Linked DNA regions of Homo sapiens: region 1 is linked to region 2. Evidence: promoter capture Hi-C in human tissues and cell types (Jung and others, 2019). All regions are on one chromosome and are shown on one strand. Each heading gives the region's core, a stretch centred on a gene start or on the middle of the fragment in contact. The rest is flanking DNA. Distances are from core to core; before and after follow the strand shown. Region 1 holds the start of SCGB1D1 (secretoglobin family 1D member 1). Region 2 overlaps SCGB2A2 (secretoglobin family 2A member 2).

Region 1 (4,389 bases), core at 1,432-3,931, 83 kb after region 2:
AAACCTCTGATTTCTTGAGAAAGACAGAGTGAGAACATCCCGCTTCCATGGCACTGCAGGAGGTAGAGTAGCGAGGGTCTTGGCCCACTGGCCGTGGTCAGGAGAGCATCGTGGGTGAGGAGGGGAGCGTGGAGTCTGAGGAGCTGGGAGGGGCTCCTTCCTGGTTCTGCAGAAGCTGCAGAGAAGTCCAGCCCTCCAGCGCAGCATCTGCAGGAGCCCCTGCTCTAGGTCCCTCCCTGCCTTCTTCTCCCTGTTCAAGGCTCCCACACTCCCCAGTACATTCCACAGTGACTGTGTGAGGTCCACTTGGCCTCAGGAAAGTCCCCAGGTGGAGAGACAGTTGTGCTTGGCCCTTCACCACCCCTGCCTGGACCCAGGCTCACTCCCCATGTCCTCAGCACACTCTGGGGACACGGCATCCAGGTAGGTGACCTGAGAAGGAGGAACATGCAGGAGGCTGTGTGCAGCTGAGTTGAATTCTGCAGGTGAAATGGTAGCACCCACCCTGTGGTCCCAGGTGACCTTCTCAAGCGGTGACCAGTAAGGCAGGTGCCCCACCACCTGTGTCCCTCACAGAGCAGCAAGCAAGCTGACCTCACTTCACACTGTGCCGCTGACCAGAAGCCTGGACACATGAAAGAGACAGAAATTACCAATGTTTTTGTAATTAGCACTCTTTTCTCATAGGCCATCGTATCCACGCATTTCTTCACTTCCATCTTGGCTGCAACAGCTTCCAGAGGTGCCTTAAATTTGGCAAGTTGGAACTTGAACACAGGTTTTCCAGCTAATAAGAAGCCTGTGATTTCAGAACCAAGAGCTTGGCAGACCACTGCATTTGCTGGAGCAAAAGAATAAAAATATAATTTGTGTAAGGAAATCAGTGTTTCTCCCATGCCTCCCTGATGTCAGACCAGACAGGAACCCCAGGGTTTTAGGCTTCTATTCAATAACTATGCCAATGACAATGTCAGACCCAGGAGGTTGTGACTTCCTTGAGGTCACACAGCAAAGGGTAGAGCTAGAACTGGAGAACCAACTTCCTGATCACTCATTCAGTCTTTGTTTTTTTTTTAAAGCACACTCATTACTTTCCAAAGCTTCTCTGGATGGATGGCCAACGTTCTCTTTTCTAGATTTGAAAATAATCACTTTTCTATGCCAGTTAAGTGACACTTTATTAGTCTTGGACATTGGTGAAGAGGAGGCTTTGAGTAATCAAATTTTGAAGTGGAATGGTAGAGTCAGAATCCTATCAGAAATTAGAGAAATGAGTAAATCTGGAACAGAAGAAGTTAAAATTATTGAAATGTTGAAGGTGATGTTTTGAGAACAAGTTGTAGAATTTAGGCTTATGTGATTCAATACAGACAGAGCTAAAAGGTAAACAAATTAAAACAAAATAAAATAATGTGAATCAGTTTTAACACACATTAGAAGCTTATACAGGAAATTGTACTTGGCCCATATTCTGCAGCAGCATCTAGAATATTTGGAGAGGATGAGAGGAGGGAACTGAGGCTCATTCCTGCTCCCACTGGGAATTTTGGAAAGACCTGGAGTAATCATTTTGCTTGGTCTGGAATCTCCATTCACCTAAGTCTTTTGCAAACACCATGCATCCAGAAAGCGCCCCACCATGCTCAACATGACCCCTGACTACCCGACTTCAAACTGTGGGGAGAATTTGGAGAGGGTAGGATCGGGGTGTCACAGGGAAACAGGGAGAGGTTCAGAAAAGAAGAGGAAAGAGAAAAATCAGAGTCTGGATCGGTCCTGACAGGGGAAAGGAAAGTACCCAAATGAACTGGGGAAAAATCAGCCAGAATTAATTTTAGAAAAATAGAAGTTCTGAGGCTAACCATTGTAGTATTTCTACCACCATTACGGTAGGACCCCTAGAAGATATATTGAGTGCTGCTTATTCTAAGAATTCATTTGCAGGCTTCTTATTGAGAGAATCAGAAAGCACCATCTCTTCTTGGACTGAGAGTTCTCCAAGGATCCTTCGAGATGTAACATTTTATGAGTCTGAATTTACAATGTAAGAAGCTGTGAGCTCAATTGGCACCTAAAGGTCTGGGGACGAGAATGTCTGACAGTACAGTGATTGGCTTCACATCCACAGCTAGACCCTTGGCACAATAATCCCACTCCATTCCCATTGCCACTCCCGGAAGAAGCTCTAAGCACCAGAGATAGGAGGAGGCGCGGGGAGGGTGAGCATCTTGCCCACGGTGAAAGGGCTGAGAAGTGGCTGAGCCCAGAGTCACCCCAGACCTCACATTACATCATCTGACACAGATCCCATCCAAGAGTGAAGCTCAGGCAGAATTCCTAACGTTCGCCTGCATTGATTTTCTGCAAAACTTCCTAGGTACTGGGGATTTGATGAAATGAGGCCCGAGCTTTATGAGCAGTTCCTTCAACAAGCACAGGATAAGGTTTGGAATTTTGGTTTGTTCCAGACCCCAACCTTAACCTTAATAGGTGACCTCGTGCTCAGAGAAGGGTGTGTCCCAAGGGCTGGTGCTGGACTCATGACTGATGTACTCACCCCGGTAGCAGCAAAGGGCCAGCGTGAGCAGCAGGAGACACACCGACAGCCTCATGGTGGCTTATTCTGCTGTGAGCTCGGCTTTAACCAATGATGAGTGATTTAGACTCAGCCCCGGGAGCCTGTGGAGCCGTGGAGCCCAGGGCTATTTGTACCTAGGGAGCCTGGCTGGTCCTGCCCACATGGGCATCTGGCAGGTGATGAGGCCTGGCTTCCAGCCCTCCCTTCCTAGCCAGGGCTGCTGCCATCCATCAGTGTCACATCCCCACACCTCCCTGCATCCTGAGTGGGGCGGAGCACGGGAGGGCAGCCCTGCAGAAACTCTGCTCTGTGCTCCAGGTGAGTGTCCAGGTGCCTCTGGCAATGTTCCCTGGAACCTCAGTTTGCTTTTGGGCTTTTGAGGATTATCTCTCTGTTCTTTATGTCAGTGCAAGGGCAAATGTGAGTTCTCATTTCAGGAGGACAGAAACCGGGGGTGCAGGAAGCTAGGGGCTGTGGTTTGGTTATAGGAGAGCAGGCACAGAAGAGACCCCACTTTGACCTCCACTGCATGTCTGACAATCAGCCACACGTGTTTCAGCTGCACATAGATCAAGTCTGAACCAGACCTATCCTCCCACTCAGCCCCTTCCATCCCCACCATCTTCACCACATAGGTACCTAAAACATAGCTGCATACACCCCACCTTTGGAGGATTTCCTTGGGGAAAACAACCACTCCCCCTGTCCTCTACTCTGTCTCACTCCAAGATCTGTGTCTTTATTTATGGGTGGAGTTGTCAACATAGCACAGGTTCAAATTTTCTGTCTACTAAAAGCAAGCCTCCAGTGACCTCTAGCCACCCATATCTCCTCATAGGGCTGATGGGATGATTAAATTGCCCAACTTTTTTTACCCAAGGAGCTGCTGGGGTGTCTGGAGGCAAACAGGCATCAGAAATACTGGTCTTCGCTTCTAGGCAGGGACGATAATGGAAAGGAAGAGATGGATGAACAGGGTGGGTGGTCACTTCCCTCTAACCTCTGGGCTCAAGTTTTCCACTTCTAACCCAGCTCTGCTGCCTGGGTCATCTCATTGTTGATGGAAAGCGAAGGCCATCCCCAGCAAAAGCAATAGACACCCTTCTGCCCTTCCACTGCAGTGCCATCATTTGGTGAGTAGGAAATCACCAGAAATTTGGCTCTTAAGTGAACACACATTTGAGAACAGTCACAGCCCAGGCCAGAGCTTTCCATTCTCTGCTCTGCAATCAAATCACTTGGGGCTCTTAAACTATACTGACTCCCCGCAGGCTGCTTCCCTTTCTGGGGATTTTGATTCAGTAGTTCTAGGGCGAGGTCCTCTTCTGTTTAAACTGCTCTGGTGGGTCTGATGGGCAGCAGTACTGAGAACCACCCAGAAAGACCTTTATGAAGGAAGCGGACCTTATGGTCTGTGTCATCAGAGACACCTTGGCAGGTCTGGCTGAGTCCCAGCTGAGGGCGACAATGCCTCTCACTTCCATCACCCAAAATGGTGGGGAAGCCCCTGATGCCACCTCTGCCTCCAACCCTAAGGAGTGGAAGGTCCAGTGGCAAAGCCCATGGCTAGGAGGGTTCAGATCCATGTCTATGGGCTATTGAACCCTCTGAAAATTAGTTTATGTAAACACAGTTTTCTCGTTTGTAAAAGTAGGTTAAAAATGGTGCCTACATCATTGGGTTGATAGATGTTCAAATGAGTGTGTGTGTGTGTGTGTGTGTGTAAAATTTACCAGGTCTGGCCAGGCGCAGTGGCTCACACTTATAATCCCAGCACTTTGGGAGGCCGAGGCGGGTGGATCACCTGAGGT
Region 2 (4,671 bases), core at 1,424-3,923:
CTCTTCATTAAGCCCTGCCTCAGTGCCTCAGCATCCACCCTACAGGATGTTGAAAATTTTCATCCCATTGAGGAATTACCCAGGAGATAGTCCCTCAAATAATATCTTGTCAAATAATGTCCAGGAGTGATTTCCTCTGAACAGTGCTCTGAATGTTCAGTTTTTCCCTACATGGGAAAACACTGACAAGCCCCTACACTGTTGAAGCCAATCTGCTCCTCCTAGGCACCACCTCCGAAAAAGCTGAACTCATCGCCCTCACTTAAGCTCTCACTCTAGCAACCAGACAACAGATGAATATACATTCAAATTCTCATTATGTGTTCCACGTAGTGCTCACACTCATCCATCTGGAAAGAATGGGGTTTCCTAACTGCAAAAAGCACTCCTGTCATAAATGGCTCTCTCATCAGCAAGCTCCTTCAAGCTTCCAAGCTCCCACAGAAAGTTGCCATCATTCATTGCAGAGGCCACCAAACCCCAGACAATCCTATATCGGCTGGAAATGAGCCAGCAGATCAGGTAGCCAAAAAAGTAGCCCTACATCCCATGCAAGGCCAGTTTCTGTCCTTGTCCTTGTTCTCTTCTCTTTACTCCTCACAAGAAAAGGAGGACTTCCAAGCCCCAAACCTTCAAAAGCAATGACCATGGTATGTCAAGGAAGGGTGCTTCACTCTCCCTCACTCTCAAAGCCTTCCTCACCTCCAAACCTCCACAAATATTTCCATGTCAGTTACAAACCTCTCCTGCAACTTCTCTGCCCTATCCTCACTTCTCCTCACCTTTCCAGCTGTGTTCAAGAGATTACCCAGTCCTGCTGTATCTGCCTCTCAGTGTCACCCCAAGGTTCTTTCTGGCCACTGCCTTTTCCTACCCACCAAGCCTGAGGCCAGGTACCCGGGCAAGATTGGCCGGTAGACTTCACCCACAAGCCACCTGATAAATTGCTCCACTATCTTCTGGTTTTTGTCTGTACTTTCTCCAGGTAGGTAGGAGCATTCCCAATAACTTCAGAAGGTACAAATATCATCACGCAAATGCTCATCATGCATATAATTGCCCATTTTGGACTCCCAACATCCATCCAGTCTGATAACAGGCCCACTTTCATCAGCCAAATCACCCAAGGTGTCTCTACATCTTTAAAAATAAAGTAAGTTCTCCACACACCCTACAGGCCTCAATCTTCACGCAAAGTTGAAAAAATGAACTCTGTCCTTAAAGCCCAACTCACCAAGCTGCTTCTAGAAACCCCCCAGTCGTGGACAAAAAATCTCCCTTTTACCCTCATGAGACTCCACGCAACACCAAAAGCACCCTCTTTCTATAGTCCCTTTGAAATCATGTATGGCCAAACTTTTGTCTTGGGGCCTCCACCCTTACCAGACTCTGAGCCACTCAGGAATTATTCCCCTTCTTAATCCAGACATGGTCTTTCATTCGTGAAGCAGCAAATGAGGCCATGCCTCTCCCTGTTGACACCTCCTTGTCCTCTCAACATAACTGTTTTGCAGGCACAGACACCTTTCCAGACAATCCAGATGATGCTCCTGCTACAATGACATGGTGGATACCAACCTGTCTCTCAAGAATAGCCCCAAAATTAAGTTTTTCTTTTTCCAAGGTGCCCATGCCACCCCATGTCACACCTGAAGTGGTTATTGAGAAAGTCGTCCTTTTTCCATAACCAAATAGACAGCAATGTAAAATTCTCCCCAGGGCCTGAAAGCTTAAGGAGATGAGCTCCCCACTTCTCAGGCTCAGTCCCAAGGCACAAGGCTACTTGTGCTAGTGGGGTGCACCAGCAAGATAGCAGAAGCAGGAAGAGAGCCGGCCGGAAGACACATACCCCTGAAGACGGAGAAAGAGGCCATCCAGATATAACATAGCAGTTACATCAGACTAGGACACTTCCTGTTTACAGGAGACTATAAAACCTTTGCACCATCCTCACTTAAGGCTGATGCCACTTTAGGCCTCAGCCCTCCTGCTTCCAGGCGCTCATTAAAACAGCATGTTGCTCCACACTGCCTCGTGTTGTCTGTTGGTATGTTCTTGGGGTTCGAGCCGATACAAAAACCTTACAAGGGGATAGCCTCAGAAAGAAGAGGGACAGGCTGAGGTAGAAGCAGAACAGGTGGCAATAACTGCCCCTGGTGACAGGAATGCTGGGGACAGGACATGAAAGAGACTCCAGGTTCCATGTAAACATCCCCTGCTGTGCTGGGTCCCTGCACAGCACACTCACTCCCCTCAACCCTCATTGCCTTTGCAGCTCACTGCGGGACAGCGGAGGATGGACCCCAGTCCCACCACAGGCACAGGACTAGAGGACATTGAAAATCTTAATAGGGGTACTGTTAAACTCAGTAGTCATATTGCATAGGATTCAAATAATAACATAATATGGTTAAAAATAATATTTTCCTGTAGTAGTTTATAAATTAAACTGAAGCCAACATCCATGATGAGTAAAAATTACAAAATTTAAACCCAGTCAGGTGCCACCCTGCTTTGCAGGACTCCTCTCCCTGGCTGGCTCTGGCCCAGGCCCTGCACATCTCGGGGAGGCCCAGAGACAGCGCAGAGAAGCCTGACATGGCCAGCAGGGCTCAGCGTGGATGGGAGGACTGGAGTGAAAGCAGGTCCTCTGAGTGAAACCCTGCCTCACATCCCAGAGCCTGAGGACTCCAGAGAGAGTCGACGGGGGAGGTGGTGGGATGGGGACAGGGAAACACTCTTCAGAGAGAGTACCAAGGCTTAGAGGTCAGACTGAGGAAACAAATGCTTCACAGAGTCCTCAACCCATGACCATGAGTTCTTTAATAAGTAAGTGTGTGTGTGTGTGTATGTAAAATATGTGAGGCCCTCTAACGCCTCTTTTCTACGGTAGAACAAAGAGAAACTTCAGTTTTTGCCATCAATTTATTAAAATAAACATGTATAGCAGGTTTCAACAATTGTCTTGTAGTTTGTAGTAAAAAGACATAAGAAAGAGAAGGTGTGGTTTGCAGCAATCCGTAGTTGGTTTCTCACCATACCCTGCAGTTCTGTGAGCCAAAGGTCTTGCAGAAAGTTAAAATAAATCACAAAGACTGCTGTCATATATTAATTGCTAGAAAGCAAAAACAGAGACATCACTTAGATTTTCTGCACTCTCTAACAAAATAAAATCTTGAAAAACAGAAGCTTATCTTTTTCCACGGTTTGCCCACAACCATCTAGCATCCCAGACGGTTAGGGCTGGAAGTAGAAGAGCTGTTGTTTCTGGATCATTTCCCCCACCATGGACTTTTTAAATATTTTTTCTGTGTGTTTGTGGTTCTTTGAAATAATGTATTCAACAAATACGTGACTATATTACCTATTTTCACAGGATTGTTAAAATCTTAGCTCAAATGCAAAAAAAAAAAAAAAAAAAAAAGTGAAACTTTGAGCTCTCGTCTAACCCTCCATTGTGGAAATATTCCCAGCATCCCAGCAGTCCGACGCCCTCTGCCACCACCATTGTGCTCTACTAATTATTGGAGCTGCAGACTATGATCTGTCTGAGGAAGCTTTTAAAGAAACAAATCCATCACCCTTCCCTGCAGTTGATAATTAGTTTTTAACAAATTATTAATAGTGGTAAAATGTACATCTCATAAAATTTGCCATTTTAAGGGGACAGTTCGGAGTGTTCTGTATATTCGTGTGGTTGTGCAACCTAACTCCAGAATATTACTGTTTTGCACAACTGAAACTCCAGACCCATTAAATATGACTCCCCCTTCTTCTCTGCACCCAAGCCCTGACAACCACTGTTTTTTTTTTTTTCACTGTCTCTGAGTCTGGCTCCCCAGATTCCCATATGCATGGGTCATGCAGCATTTGTGTTTTTGTGACTCTTTGCTTCACTCTTCACTCGCTATAATATCCTCAAGGTTCATCCATGTTGTAGAAAGCGTCAGGGTTTCCTGAGGTGATGTTCACTTTCATCCTAATGGAGGGGTTTGGTATATTTCTAACTTTTTTTTTTTTTTTTTTTTTACCAGGGAAGGATTAAAGAAGAATTTAACATAGGGAATAAATGCTAAAGAAAACCCTCAACAATATACATGTATAGTTAGAAAGAAATACAAAACTATTGGTTTTTGTTTGAGGCAATTCTTCCTCCATGGTGGTTTCATACCCATGATCTACAGTTGCCTATTGGATAGTCCAAGGTTTCTCATCATTTATGCTAGCAAATTATGATTGCCTGGAAGTGCATTTTAAATTCTTTTTATTTGAGATGTATAGAATCTTGCTCAAATGGTATTTTCCAAACTGTTGAAAAATAGGGCATTTTTTAAGAAAGAACACTTTTACTTTTTTTTGAAGAAGAGAAGTTTTCTCTGCAGATTGGTCTATAGGTGCGGGTCTTCTGGAAAATTGTTTTTTCTGTAGAGAGTGAACATATGTTTGTATGTGTGTGTCTGAGTGTGTTTGTGTGTGTCTCTGTGTTTCTGTGGTTGTGTGGTTCTGTCTGTGTGTTTGTGTTTGTGTCTGGATGATTGTGTGCTGGTGTGATTGTGTCTGTGTCTGTGTCTGTGTCTTTGCCTGTCTGTCTATGTTTGTGTATGTCTGAATGTGTGTGTGTTTGTGTGATTGTGACTGTGTCTGTGTGTTTGCATGTGTCTGGATGTGTGT

What was found. Contacts are between HindIII fragments. The study calls those that stand out against the background at their distance.
Region 1: a contact is called between the fragment with the promoter of SCGB1D1 here and a fragment that was not itself captured in region 2, in 2 of the 25 tissues and cell types used here (liver and neural progenitor cells).

What each region holds. Positions count from the first base shown.
Region 1 is chr11:62,188,508-62,192,896 of GRCh38, reverse strand. It overlaps SCGB1D1 (secretoglobin family 1D member 1), which reads right to left and starts at 2,681. Exons shown (of 3, transcript NM_006552.2): 1 at 2,558-2,681; 2 at 654-841. The coding sequence starts at 2,612. RefSeq lists an enhancer at 127-627. The HindIII fragment of the contact is 12,490 bases long and covers 1,271-4,389 here.
Region 2 is chr11:62,271,401-62,276,071 of GRCh38, reverse strand. SCGB2A2 (secretoglobin family 2A member 2) reads right to left here. Exons shown (of 3, transcript NM_002411.4): 3 at 2,912-3,115. The coding sequence ends at 3,077. Among named protein-coding and RNA genes, the nearest start is that of SCGB2A2, 3.6 kb to the right of the region's middle. The HindIII fragment of the contact is 3,190 bases long and covers 1,079-4,268 here.